Regions from separate parts of the Homo sapiens genome. Here all the other regions are linked to region 1. The links are contacts of gene promoters, found by promoter capture Hi-C in blood cells and fetal thymus (Javierre and others, 2016). All regions are on one chromosome and are shown on one strand. The core of a region is centred on a gene start or on the middle of the fragment in contact, and the rest is flanking DNA. Distances in the headings are between cores, read along the strand shown.

Region 1 (2,863 bases), core at 157-2,656:
TTCCATTCCTGAGTTACTTCACTTAGAACAACAGTCTCCAATCCCATCCAGGTTGCCAATGCCATTAATTCATTCCTTTTTATGGCTGAGTAGCATTCCACCGTATACGCATACCACAGTTTCTTTATCCACTCTTTGATTGATGGGCATTTGGGTTGGTTTCATGTTTTTGCAATTACGAATTGTGCTGCTATTAACATGCGTGTGCAAGTATCTTTTTTGTATAATGACTTATTTTCCTCTGCGTAGATACCCAGTAGTGGGATTGCTGGATCAAATGGTAGTTCTATTTTTAGTTATTTAAGGAATCGCCATACTATTTTCCACAGTGGTTGTACTATCCATCAGCAGTGTAGAGGTGTTCCCTCTTCACCAAATCCACGCCAACATCTATTATTTTTTGAGTTTTTGATTTTTTGATTAAGGCCACTCTTGCGGGAGTAAGGTGGTATCACATTGTGGTTTTGATTTGCATTTCCCTAATCATTAGTGATGTTGAGCATTTTTTCTTGTTTGTTGGCCATTTGCATATCCTCTTTTGAGAACTGTCTATTCATGCCAGCCCACTTTTTGATGGGATTTTTTTTTCTTGCTAATTTGTTTGAGTTTCTTGTAGATTCTGGATATTACTGCTTTGTCGGATGTATAGATTGTGAAGATTTTCTCCCACTCTGTAGGTTGTCTGTTTACTCTGCTTGACTATTCCTTTTGCTTTGCAAAAGCTATTTAGTCTACTTTTTTTTTTTTTTTTTTTTTTTTTTTTTTTGAGACGGACCAGACTGGAGTGCGGTGGCGCCATCTCGGCTCACTGCAGCCTCTGCCTCCCGGGTTCAAGTGATTCTCCTGCCTCAGCTTCCCCAGCAACTGAGATTACAGGCACGCGCCATTACACTCGGCTAATTTTTGTATTTTTAGTAGAGACGGGGTTTTGCCATGTTGGCCAGGCTGGTCTGGAACTCCTGACCTCCAGTGATCCGCCTGCCTCGGCCTCCCAGTGTTGGGATTACTGGCGTGAGCCCCGCGCCCGCCCCTGGCTGGCTTCTTTGCCGCAAGCTGTTTCATCAGCAAAGTCTTTGTGACCTGTATCTAGTCTGCTCATTTTTAAATGCGTGTTCTGCACTCCCCAGTGGATGGCCGTGTATCAGGAGCCGGCCCTTTTCTGGAAACAGGCCAGCATTCAGTCTCCACAGAGGCACCATAAACACGCTGGTGGGGCCCTGTACTGTGGTCAAAGTCAAGGCCTCCGGGCAGGACTCGCGGCCCCTCCGGCTGGCGGGTGGGGTTGACCCGCACGTCCCGCCCCGCCTCTCCCTTCGCGCTCCGGACGGGCGACGGTAGCTCGAGACCCGGGACTCCGCCCGCCTCCCCGCGAGTATTTGAGGTCCGGGGCGGCTCCGGCGCCTCTGCCCGCCGTTCTGCTCGCTCGCTCCCCGCTCTGGAGTACGTGTCTGGCTTGGGAGCCGCTCGGACACGCTGGCTTGGGTTTGTCGCTCCAAAGTCGGGAAAGCCGGGGGCGCGAGCGGGGAGGGGGGCAGGGTGGGGGTCGCGCGGGGCCGGGAACGCGCGTGGGTCGACGGCGCGCGGGGACGCTGGAGCCCCGAGAATGGGGCGTGGCCGCGCGGGGCTGTGACCCCAGCAGTCCCAGCGGGGCGGGGGCCCGGGCGAGCGTCCGGCTTGGGTTCCCTTCCGGAGCCTCGCAGCGGCAGAGAACGGCGACGCGGCCGGGTGAGTCGTGCGTGGCCGCGAGCCCGGCCGGTGACGCCGCGGACCCGAGGACCCCGGGCGCCCAGGCCCAGCGCCCACGGAAGAGGCGGCCGGCGCGGGATGGGGGCGGCGCAGAGCCTCCCGGGCCACAGGTGACCCCGGTCGGCCCCGCGGCCTCGGTGACCCCTCGCCCGCTCCGCGACCCGGAGGACGCGTGCTCAGTCTTGGGGCGCCGGGTGTTAGGAGCCGGGCGGGAGGCGGAGAGAGGCCGAGGGGTTCGGCGCCAAACGGTGCCATCCGGGCCCCCTGCGTGTGTTCACTGGACTGGCCGTGCTGGGCTTGGCCAATCCGCAGCACTTTCAGGTCGCCCAGACCTGTGGAGACGATCGTGTGGACCAGCCCGGATCTCCTTACCGCTCTGTGTTTGAATTAAACTCCCTACAGGCAAACTATTACAGGCTTTGATGTCTTCAAGGCAAAGAGGAAACTTTAACTACAAATTGGCATTTAAGTTATTTTCTTCCTTTTTTTTTTTTTTTTTTTTGTCCTAAAGATTGGCTTCGGAAAACTGAGGTACAGAAAATTAATAATTAATGTTCACATGCTGTCAGGAATACTCAGATGCGAGGGGGCATCTGAGTCCATTTTTTGGGCACTTTTGCTTTCTGGGATGCTCTCGTGCCTAATGACAGCCCTGCAGCTGCCTGCATCCTTTCTGGTGGGGGTCAGGCCTGATGCGATGAGATCTGATGTGTTCAGTGACCTTCTAGTTAAGGTCCTGGGCCGGCCTTGTATTGCTGGGGCTTTTATGTGTGCTGGGATTAACACCAGTGACTGCTGTTATCAGCATAGATGGCGTTTGTTCTCATTTCAGGACCGTATCTGAGTAATTGCATCCATTGTGATGTGCCACCAAAGAGAAAAGTACTTTGGTCATACTCGACTATGTAAACTAAGTATTTTAAGTTAAGGCCAATTCCAATGCATTTTATTACAATTCAGCATGAAACAGTTAACACGGACCAGTAACAGTAGAGTGAAATTAGCATGAATAGAACCAACATTCTTTTCCACATATGTAATAATAAGGGCACCCAAGCAGATGTTGTACGGTCCCAGGGAAGACCACACACCTTACATTTCCAGGCTTACTGCACTT
Region 2 (2,863 bases), core at 259-2,758, 200 kb after region 1:
CAGAATATTAAGTTGCAGATACATTACGATAACCAGTACACAGAGCAAAGAACACACAGAAACATGAAACATGTTAGGATTTCCCCCCTTTTCTTTCAATTTGTCTTTACCATGTGGTTCTATGCGTCTGTAATGAGAATTCTGTTACGGGAAACCTACACATGAGTATCCCACATCTGAAGTGCCTGGGACCAGAAGTGGTCTGAATTTCCTATTTTTTTGATTTTAGAATATTTGCATTATATACTTACCAGATGAGCACCCAAAATCCAGAAATCTGAAGTGCTCCAATAAGCATTTCCTTTCACAGCATCATGAAGGTGCTCAAAAAGCTTTAGATTTGGGAGCATTTTGGATTTCAGATTTGGGATACTCAACCTGTACTACATATGAGGAGCTGGCAGCCCCCTTAGGCTCTGACAAATGCCCACCACATAAAGCACTTCTGAGTATGAGTCCATGTGGCTGATACCACAGGTTCCACACACTGCTTGTGGCCACAGATGTAATGGCTATCCCCATCACAACGGTATTCCAAAACAAGGCCACTCTGTCCTACCCAGTGGTCCACGGGCCAAATGTTTCAATGCTTTCATTAGACACAGCAGAATTCTCCCTCCATCTCAGACAGGAGCAAATGGGGCCAGACACATAGGGAGAGCCTGGTGAAACCTAAACCCTGAGCCTAAACTATGCCTTGTACTTTAATCCTCACAGAAAAGTGGCTCCAGAACTTGGCCTCAGGGCAGGCACGAGCAGCTGCAGAGTCCACAGCAGGAGGAGGTGGGCAATAGCCTCTCATCACACCAGATTATGTTCCATGGCAGTATTTCAGCCAACGTATGAACAAATACCATCTGAAGAATATGTTCTAATATTAAAAAAAAGGAAAACCCCTGACCCAAGAAATCAAATTATCTATGATATACACTTGGTGCATTAACGAGCTCATGTGGTACTCATGATGCAGAAATAGGTCACTAAAAGGATAGGGACAGCCTATAATGTCATATTCAGTTAACATTCCTTTACTTTCATGAAACTGAGTTTCAACTACACAAAAAGGATTACATAATTTTAAGGTTACAAGTTAATTTTTACTTGATTTTTTTTTTTTAACAAAATGCTAAACTGCAGGTTAAAAAGAAATTGAAACATGAGTACAATGCTCAAAAGAGTTGTATGGTAAGTCTAGAAAGTATTTATCTATCTATTTGTTCTATTCAATGAGGGACATAAAGCCTTTCAAATCATCAATAAGGCTTCCCATAGAAGCCTAAGCACAAAAGCAAACACCCAAGAACCAAAACAACAAAGCAAAGTTAAAGCTTGAAGAATTATAGAAACACATATTAGAGGCTGGAAAATGCATCTTCAAGTGTGCAGGGATAACTTTGTTAGGTATAATCGAACATTTCCCTCCTCTTTTATTTTCATTACGGGCGGATCAACATTTCTTCTCTGTCCCCACCCTCTCCTCACTGACGCCCGGCCCTTTCTGGCCCCCTGCCAGGAGACTCTCTGGGAGGTGTGTGCCCCCAGGACGCTGCACACTGTCAACTTACTCTGAGCTGCTGTTGCTGCTGTGGCTCAGAGGGTCAGTGGGACGGCTAGAGTCTAGGACGTGGATTCCCAGGGAGTTGATCGCTCGCATTAAAATAGTCACCATTGCCTCTACTGGAAGCTTCTCAAGAACAATCACTCGACAGCGGCTCAGAAGAGCAGCGTTGACCTGGAAGGAAGGGTTTTCAGTGGTTGCCCCAATCAGAGTGATCGTCCCACATTCCACGTGAGGAAGGAAAGTGTCCTAATCATGGGAGGAAAACAGAAAAAAGTGATTCCAGTCAACAGCCACCTGCAGAATCCTATGTAAGTTGGCTATCCCTTCCTTCCTTTTCCTCATTTTTATCTTTCGAGTTCAGGAATAGCAGCAGCCTTATATTCACTGAATATAGATGCAATATTTGGGGGAGTACAACTCTTGCTTTTAAGTCTGAAACACATCTTCTGGAATGCCCGTCCAAGCCTGATCTCTTGCTGGTAGACTAATAGCTTTAAGTAGAATTCTAGCTTAGTTTCAACATAAATGATTTCTTTACTCAGAAAACCATCTTCTACCAAAGGCTGAACTGGCACATAGCTTATATGTAACAGCTATTTATTTATAGACAAGAACACACAAAAACATTAACACTTCCAGAATCTTCTTCCACAGCAAGCACTCAATCATATTATTATTATTCCTATTATGCTGTTTTATGGGGAAAAAATACTAAGATGAGTCAGTGGTCCAATATGAAACCTAGAATGCTAACGCCTCGTCAGAACTTTAAAAGGGTCTTTTTATTCAAAAAGGTTCAAAAAAGGCTCAGTAGAGTTTTGTGAAATATTCTATGTATGATTAAAAAGTTACAAAAAAAAATTTTTTAAAGTTATGCCTAAAAATTTAATTTTTTTTTATTTAGAGTATAGCTCTCAGATCTCAGCCCAATAAAATTTTAATGTTTATTTTTTTTTAAATCCCTAAGTGGCTTTGTTTATAAAAATAGCTTGTGTCCTTTTATTTCAGAAACCCATTTAAATAAACAGTAATCATTAGCTCTTCCAACATTCACCTTGAAGACAGAGCCTGGAGTTACAGAAAATACCGATTGTTTAATTTTCAAAATAAAAATACTGTTAAAGTAATTTTTAAAAACCCATTAAAATAATGACCTTAAAATCATTATTTTACTGTTCACAATGACTCCTAGTATTTAGATTAAAAATTCCTAAAACTGGAAATTTGATTCAAAGGTGCTTTTCTGATACGTATAGCTCAGGGATATGCCAACCATTTCATTTATCAGATAGAGAAAGCATT
Region 3 (2,863 bases), core at 230-2,729, 180 kb after region 1:
GGCTGCCGGCCACCTCCTGCTCTCCCAGGGCTCCCTGCCTGCTCCCACCCCTTGCCTCTCAGGCCTTGCCAGGGAATTGCTTCTCACCTTGTGTTGGTCCCCTGAACCTCCCCTATACCTCTCTAATACTTGTGATCCCTGATTAAAAGTTTCTCAGTGGCCTGAGGGGATCATCTGCATCCTCCCCGGAGCCTGACTGGCTTTAGAGCTTCAAAACATTTAGTTTTAAATGATTGGTTTTTATGAAGATTTGTTAACTCTATTAAAAATATTTACTTCTGTTTGGTTTCTGCTTAAGTTATAAATGCCTTTGTGGGCTCAAACTGCCTGGAACTGCATCTATGAATGTGTAGTAGTGCTTTCAAACTGTAGTCGCTACACAAAGGTTAATTCATCAAAAAGTAAGAGATCCATGGCATTTATATGAAAGTATAGGAAAATCATCCTTTCTAATATAACATCAGTATCAAAAGGCCGGTTCTCTCATTTGGAATTAATTGATAACATTGTCCAGGTTTGATGACTTGTATCTGGAAAAGATGAGTTAACATCCATTCTTGTTGTAACAATTGGAACAAATCTCTGCAAGTCACTATTCTTACTGTTCTTAAACTCAGGTTTGGCTGTTATGAGGGTGAACAAAACTACCAAATACACTTGGAACATAAGGAATAAATTGTGTTTGGTGGTTATGTTGCTTTTTCAGAATCAGTACATAACTTGTGATATTTATTTATTTACTTATTTATTATTATTTTTTAAGATGGAGTCTCACTCTGTCACCTAGCCTGGAGTGCAGTGGCGCGATCTCGGCTCACTGCAACCTCCACCTCCCAGGTTCAAGCGATTCTCCTGCCTCAGGCTCCTGAGTAGCTGAGATTACAGGTGTGCGCCACCACACCCAGCCAATTTTTATATACTTAATAGAAACGACGTTTCACCATGTTGCCCAGGCTGGTCTCAAACTCCTGATCTCAAGTGACCTGCCCGCCTCAGCCTCCCAAAGTGCTGGGATTACAGGTGTGTGCCACCGCACCTGGCCCATAACTTGTGGTATTTAAATGGCATCATATGGAAGGGCTGCCCCCAATTGTTGAATACTACTGTAAACAGGCAAGAGATGTGCCTCCCTCACCAGAAACTCTGACTCACTGCATTAGTTTTTCCCAGGGTTTAGCTAATGGTGTAAACTTTCAGTCATGCTCACTGTGGTATGTGAGAGGTATTCATTCAGGCAGTGAATATCTGCTTTAAAAACTTTAAAAATCTGCTTTCACAAAATAAGATTCTTTGAAACCAAAAAACAAGCATTTGCAAACTTTCAAGCTTGATTTTACAGTTACAGAAAGTTGGCTGCTCAGTGCCCCGCTGCTGGATACAGCAGAAAGTGTGCTGCAGGCTCTCCCCAGCACCGCGTGCTCCAGCACAGGCCCCGTGTCCGCGTTACACACTGTGTTCAGGGCCGCATGTCTAATAGGATGATGGATCTCAAAAAGCCCTCATCACTTATCTGTTGGCTTGAGTTACGATGCTCACATATCGTCCTGGCATAAATTCACACCTGTGCCTTGACCACCACTGGGATCCGTCCCTTGGGAAACTGGCAGGAGTGAGTCATGACGGAAAAGCTTGTTGAGGAGTTAATGTCACCTCCGGTTACATCACAAGCACACTTCTTATTTGGAAGTAACTCCATCCCCCAACAAAAATTTTTTTTTTTTTTTTTTTTTTGAGACGGAGTCTCGCTCTGTCGCCCAGGCTGGACTGCGGACTGCAGTGGCGCAATCTCGGCTCACTGCAAGCTCCGCTTCCCGGGTTCACGCCATTCTCCTGCCTTAGCCTCCCGAGTAGCTGGGACTACAGGCGCCCGCCACCGCGCCCGGCTAATTTTTTGTATTTTTAGTAGAGACGGGGTTTCACCTTGTTAGCCAGGATGGTCTCGATCTCCTGACCTCGTGATCCACCTGCCTTGGCCTCCCAAAGTGCTGGGATTACAGGTGTGAGCCACCACGCCTGGCCTGTAAAAATGTTATTTTTAAAGAATCAAAATTGGCCAGGCACAGTGGCTCATGCCTGTAATCCTAGCATTTTGGGAGGCTGAGGCAGGCGGATTGCCTGAGCTCAGGAGTTCGAGACCAGCCTGGGCAAGACAGTAAAACCTTGTCTTTACTAAAATACAAAAAAATTAGCCAGGCGTGGTGGTGTGTGCCTGTAGTCCCAGCTACTCAGGAGGCTGAGGCAGGAGAAGTGCTTGAACCCAGGAGGTGGAGGTTGCAGTGAGCCGAGATCGCGTCATTGCACTCCAGCCTGGGCAAAAGAGCACAAGCCTCCGTCTCCAAAAAAAAAAAAAAAAAAATCAAGAAAAAACTGGGCTATACATTTCTTAATGAAATACTAGTAAAGATAATGGATTGGACCCACATGTGATTTTATTTCCTCCTAAGCCTCCACCAAAAATACAGTAAAGGAATCCTTAAAATCCATCAATCCTTGAAAGTGAGGAGAACAAGTGAGATAATGGCAACATGATGCTGGAGGTGGAAACATGGCGGGCAAATGGTAACTGACCTGGCAAGTCGAGTGGGGAATGCCAAGGCATCAACGTGGCAGACGTCTCAGAGGCTTGGGAGGTGGCAGCAGGTAAGGAAGAGGAAGATGGGTCTCCAGACACCCTCTCCTACTCCAGGCCAGGGGAAGATCTCTGAACCAGAGGGGCCCAGATAGAGCCAGGGGCTTGGGTACCATTTCAGTCAGAAGATCAAAGTGGTAGGCACATACTGAGTGATGTATGACGACTTTCCTCTTTCCCCACCTGGCGCTGAGAACGCAGGGAGCCATGCCTTGACCTACTTGACTGAAAAGA
Region 4 (2,863 bases), core at 151-2,650, 160 kb after region 1:
TGAGAATTACCATGCCTGTTGACTGGAAGATTCAATACTGTTAACATGTGAATTCTCCCCAAATTGATCTGTTGATTAATACAATCCCAGTCAGAATCTCAGCAGGCTACTTGTGGAAACTGAAAAGCTACATCTAAAATTTACATGGAAATGCAAAAGACCTAGAATAATCATGTCAAAGCAACTTTGAAAAAGATGTAAAACGTTAGAGGCTTTAAAATATTTTATTATTATTATTTTTAGCAGAGGTGAGGTCTTGCTATGGCACCCAGGCTGGTCTCAAACTCCCAGGCTCAAGCAATCCTCTCATCTCGGCCTCCCCAGATGCTGGGATCACAAGCATGAGCCACTGTGCCCAGTCTAAAATGCCTTATTTTAAGACATGTTATAAAGATCCAGTAATCAAGGTAGTGTGATATTGAGATTAAGGATATATATATACACACATATATATATGTATTCTATATTATATATACACATGGGGCAGAATAGAGAGTCCAGAAATAGACCCACACATATACGGTCAATTGATTTTTAACAAATGTGCCAAGGCAATTCTATGGGGAAAGTAAAATCTTGTCAACAAATGGTTCTGGGACAATTTGACAGCCATATGCAAAAATATGAATCTCAACACTATTCCTTGTGTATAATTTTAATATGCAAAAATGAACTACAGAATGAAGCATAGACCCAAATGCAAGAGCTTAAAAAAGCATAACTTCTAGAATAAAATATATAAGAAAATCTTAGTGACACTGGGTTTGTCAAAGAAATCTTCAGTATGACATAAAACAATCAAACTATTTTTTTTAAAAACAGTATATTGGATTTTATCAGAACAAAAAAACTCTTTTCTCCTCAAAAGCAAGCCATAGACCAGGAGATAATATTTGCAAGACATATATTTGACAAAGGACTTGTATGTAGACTGTATAAAGAATACTACATAATAAGAAGACAAACAGCCCAATTTATTTATGTTTTTAATTTTTATTTTTATAGATGTATGGGGTACAAATGCAGTTGTGTGATACAGATTTATTGCATAGTGGTGAAGTGTGGGCTACTAGTGTACTCATCACCCGAATAGTGTCCATTATGCCCAATACGTGGTATTTCATTCCTCACACCCTTCCTACCTTCCACCTTTCTGAGTCTCCACTATCTATTACTCCACTCTGCATGTCAATGTATATGCACTTTTTAAAAAATGGCCAAAAGATGTGAACAGACACTGCATCAAAGAAGATATATAGATGGTAAATAAGCACATGAAAATATGTCCATACTTAATGGTACTTTACTTTCGTCCTATGATGCCCATACTTTCATCCTGTGATAAAAAACAAGGCAAGGACCATCATTAGTCATGTAATGATCGTCATTAGGGAAATGCAAATTAAAACCACCATGAGATGTATACCCACCAGAATAGTTAGAATTAAAAAGACTGATCACACTAAATGTATATTCTGGGGGCAATGTCAACTATTACACCACTTTGGAAAACAATTTCTTTTTTTTCTTTTAGAGATGGGGTCTTGCTATAGTGCCTAGGCTGGTCTTGGACTTCTGGCCTCAAGTGTTCCTCCTACCTCAGCCTCCCAAAGTTCTGGGATTACAGGCATGAGCCACTGTGCCTGGCTTGGAAAACAATTTACTAAAAAATTAAATATATACCTGACATGTGACCCGGTCATTCCACTTCTATTAATAGGTGTTTACCAGAAAAGAAAGCATAGACCCACACAAAGACTTGTATGCACAAATTAATAGTTTTATTTGCAATAGCCAAAAACCAAAAACAACCAAAATGTCAACCAATAGACGAATGAATAAACAAATTGTCATATATTCATACAGTGGAATACTACTTAGCAAAAAAAAAAATTATTGATAAACTTTACAACATGTGTGAATCCAAAAATACCTATGTTGAGTGAAAGAAGCAAGACAAGAAAACAGGTGGGGCGTGGTGGCTCATGCCTGTCATCCCAGCACTTTGGGAGGCCGAGGCAGGTGGATCACGAGGTCAGGAGATTGAGACCATCCTGGCTAACACGGTGAAACCCCATCTCTACTAAAAATGCAAAAAATTAGCCGGGCGTGGTGGCGGGCACCTGTAGTCCCAGCTACTCGGAAGGCTGAGGCAGGAGAATGGCGTGAACCCGGGAAGTGGAGCTTGCAGTGAGCTGAGATCGCGCCGCTGCACTCCAGCCTGGGTGACAGAGCAAGAATCCGTCTCAAAAAAAAAAAAAAAAAAAAGACTAGAAAAGAGTATATATTATAGAATTCTTGTAATTGCTAACTAGTCTGCAGTGACAGAAAGCAGGTCGATGATTGCCTGGACTGGGGAAGGGAGGGAGGGATTATAAAAGGGAATGAAGAAATTTGGGGGGCTAAGGGATATGTTTGCCATCTTGATTGTGATGATGATTTCACAGGTGTATACATATGTCAAAACTTAGCAAATATATACCTTAAATATGGGCAGTTTACGATATGTCAATATACCTCAACAAAGCTGTTAAAGAAATCTCTGTCTCCAACCCATTCCTTCTTTTTTTTTTTTTTTTTTTTTTTTTTTTTGAGATAGAGTCTTGCTCTGTGGCCCAGGCTCAAGTGCAGTGACGTGATCTCGGCCCATTGCAACCTCCGCCTTCCAGGTTCAAATGATTCTCCTGCCTCAGCCTCCTGAGTAGCTGGGATTACAGGACTGTGCCACCACACCTGGCTAATTTTTGTATTTTTAGTAGAGACAAGGTTTCCCCACGTTGGCCAGGCTGGTCTTGAACTCCTGACCTCAAGTGATCCACCCACCTCGGCCTCCCAAAGTGCTGGGATTACAGGCGTGAGCCAC

What was found. Contacts are between HindIII fragments. The CHiCAGO score rates a contact against its expected background, and 5 or more counts as called.
Region 2: a contact is called between a fragment that was not itself captured here and the fragment with the promoter of SERPINB6 in region 1, in 1 of 17 cell types (total CD8 T cells). The highest score is 6.0, in total CD8 T cells.
Region 3: a contact is called between a fragment that was not itself captured here and the fragment with the promoter of SERPINB6 in region 1, in 13 of 17 cell types (monocytes, naive B cells, total CD8 T cells and 10 more). The highest score is 9.6, in monocytes.
Region 4: a contact is called between a fragment that was not itself captured here and the fragment with the promoter of SERPINB6 in region 1, in 3 of 17 cell types (total CD8 T cells, total B cells and neutrophils). The highest score is 6.5, in total CD8 T cells.

Annotation. Positions count from the first base shown.
Region 1 is chr6:2,970,110-2,972,972 of GRCh38, reverse strand. SERPINB6 (serpin family B member 6) reads left to right here and starts at 1,406. Exons shown (of 7, transcript NM_004568.6): 1 at 1,406-1,440. RefSeq lists an enhancer at 1,101-1,625. The HindIII fragment of the contact is 12,287 bases long and covers 1-2,863 here.
Region 2 is chr6:2,769,064-2,771,926 of GRCh38, reverse strand. It overlaps WRNIP1 (WRN helicase interacting protein 1), which reads right to left. Exons shown (of 7, transcript NM_020135.3): 3 at 1,566-1,807. It also overlaps a transcript of MYLK4 not described here. Among named protein-coding and RNA genes, the nearest start is that of WRNIP1, 5.1 kb to the right of the region's middle. The HindIII fragment of the contact is 356 bases long and covers 1,331-1,686 here.
Region 3 is chr6:2,787,785-2,790,647 of GRCh38, reverse strand. No RefSeq gene overlaps it. Among named protein-coding and RNA genes, the nearest start is that of WRNIP1, 24 kb to the right of the region's middle. The HindIII fragment of the contact is 302 bases long and covers 1,329-1,630 here.
Region 4 is chr6:2,812,457-2,815,319 of GRCh38, reverse strand. LOC124901241 (a long non-coding RNA gene) reads left to right here and starts at 2,566. Exons shown (of 3, transcript XR_007059408.1): 1 at 2,566-2,863. The HindIII fragment of the contact is 6,275 bases long and covers 1-2,863 here.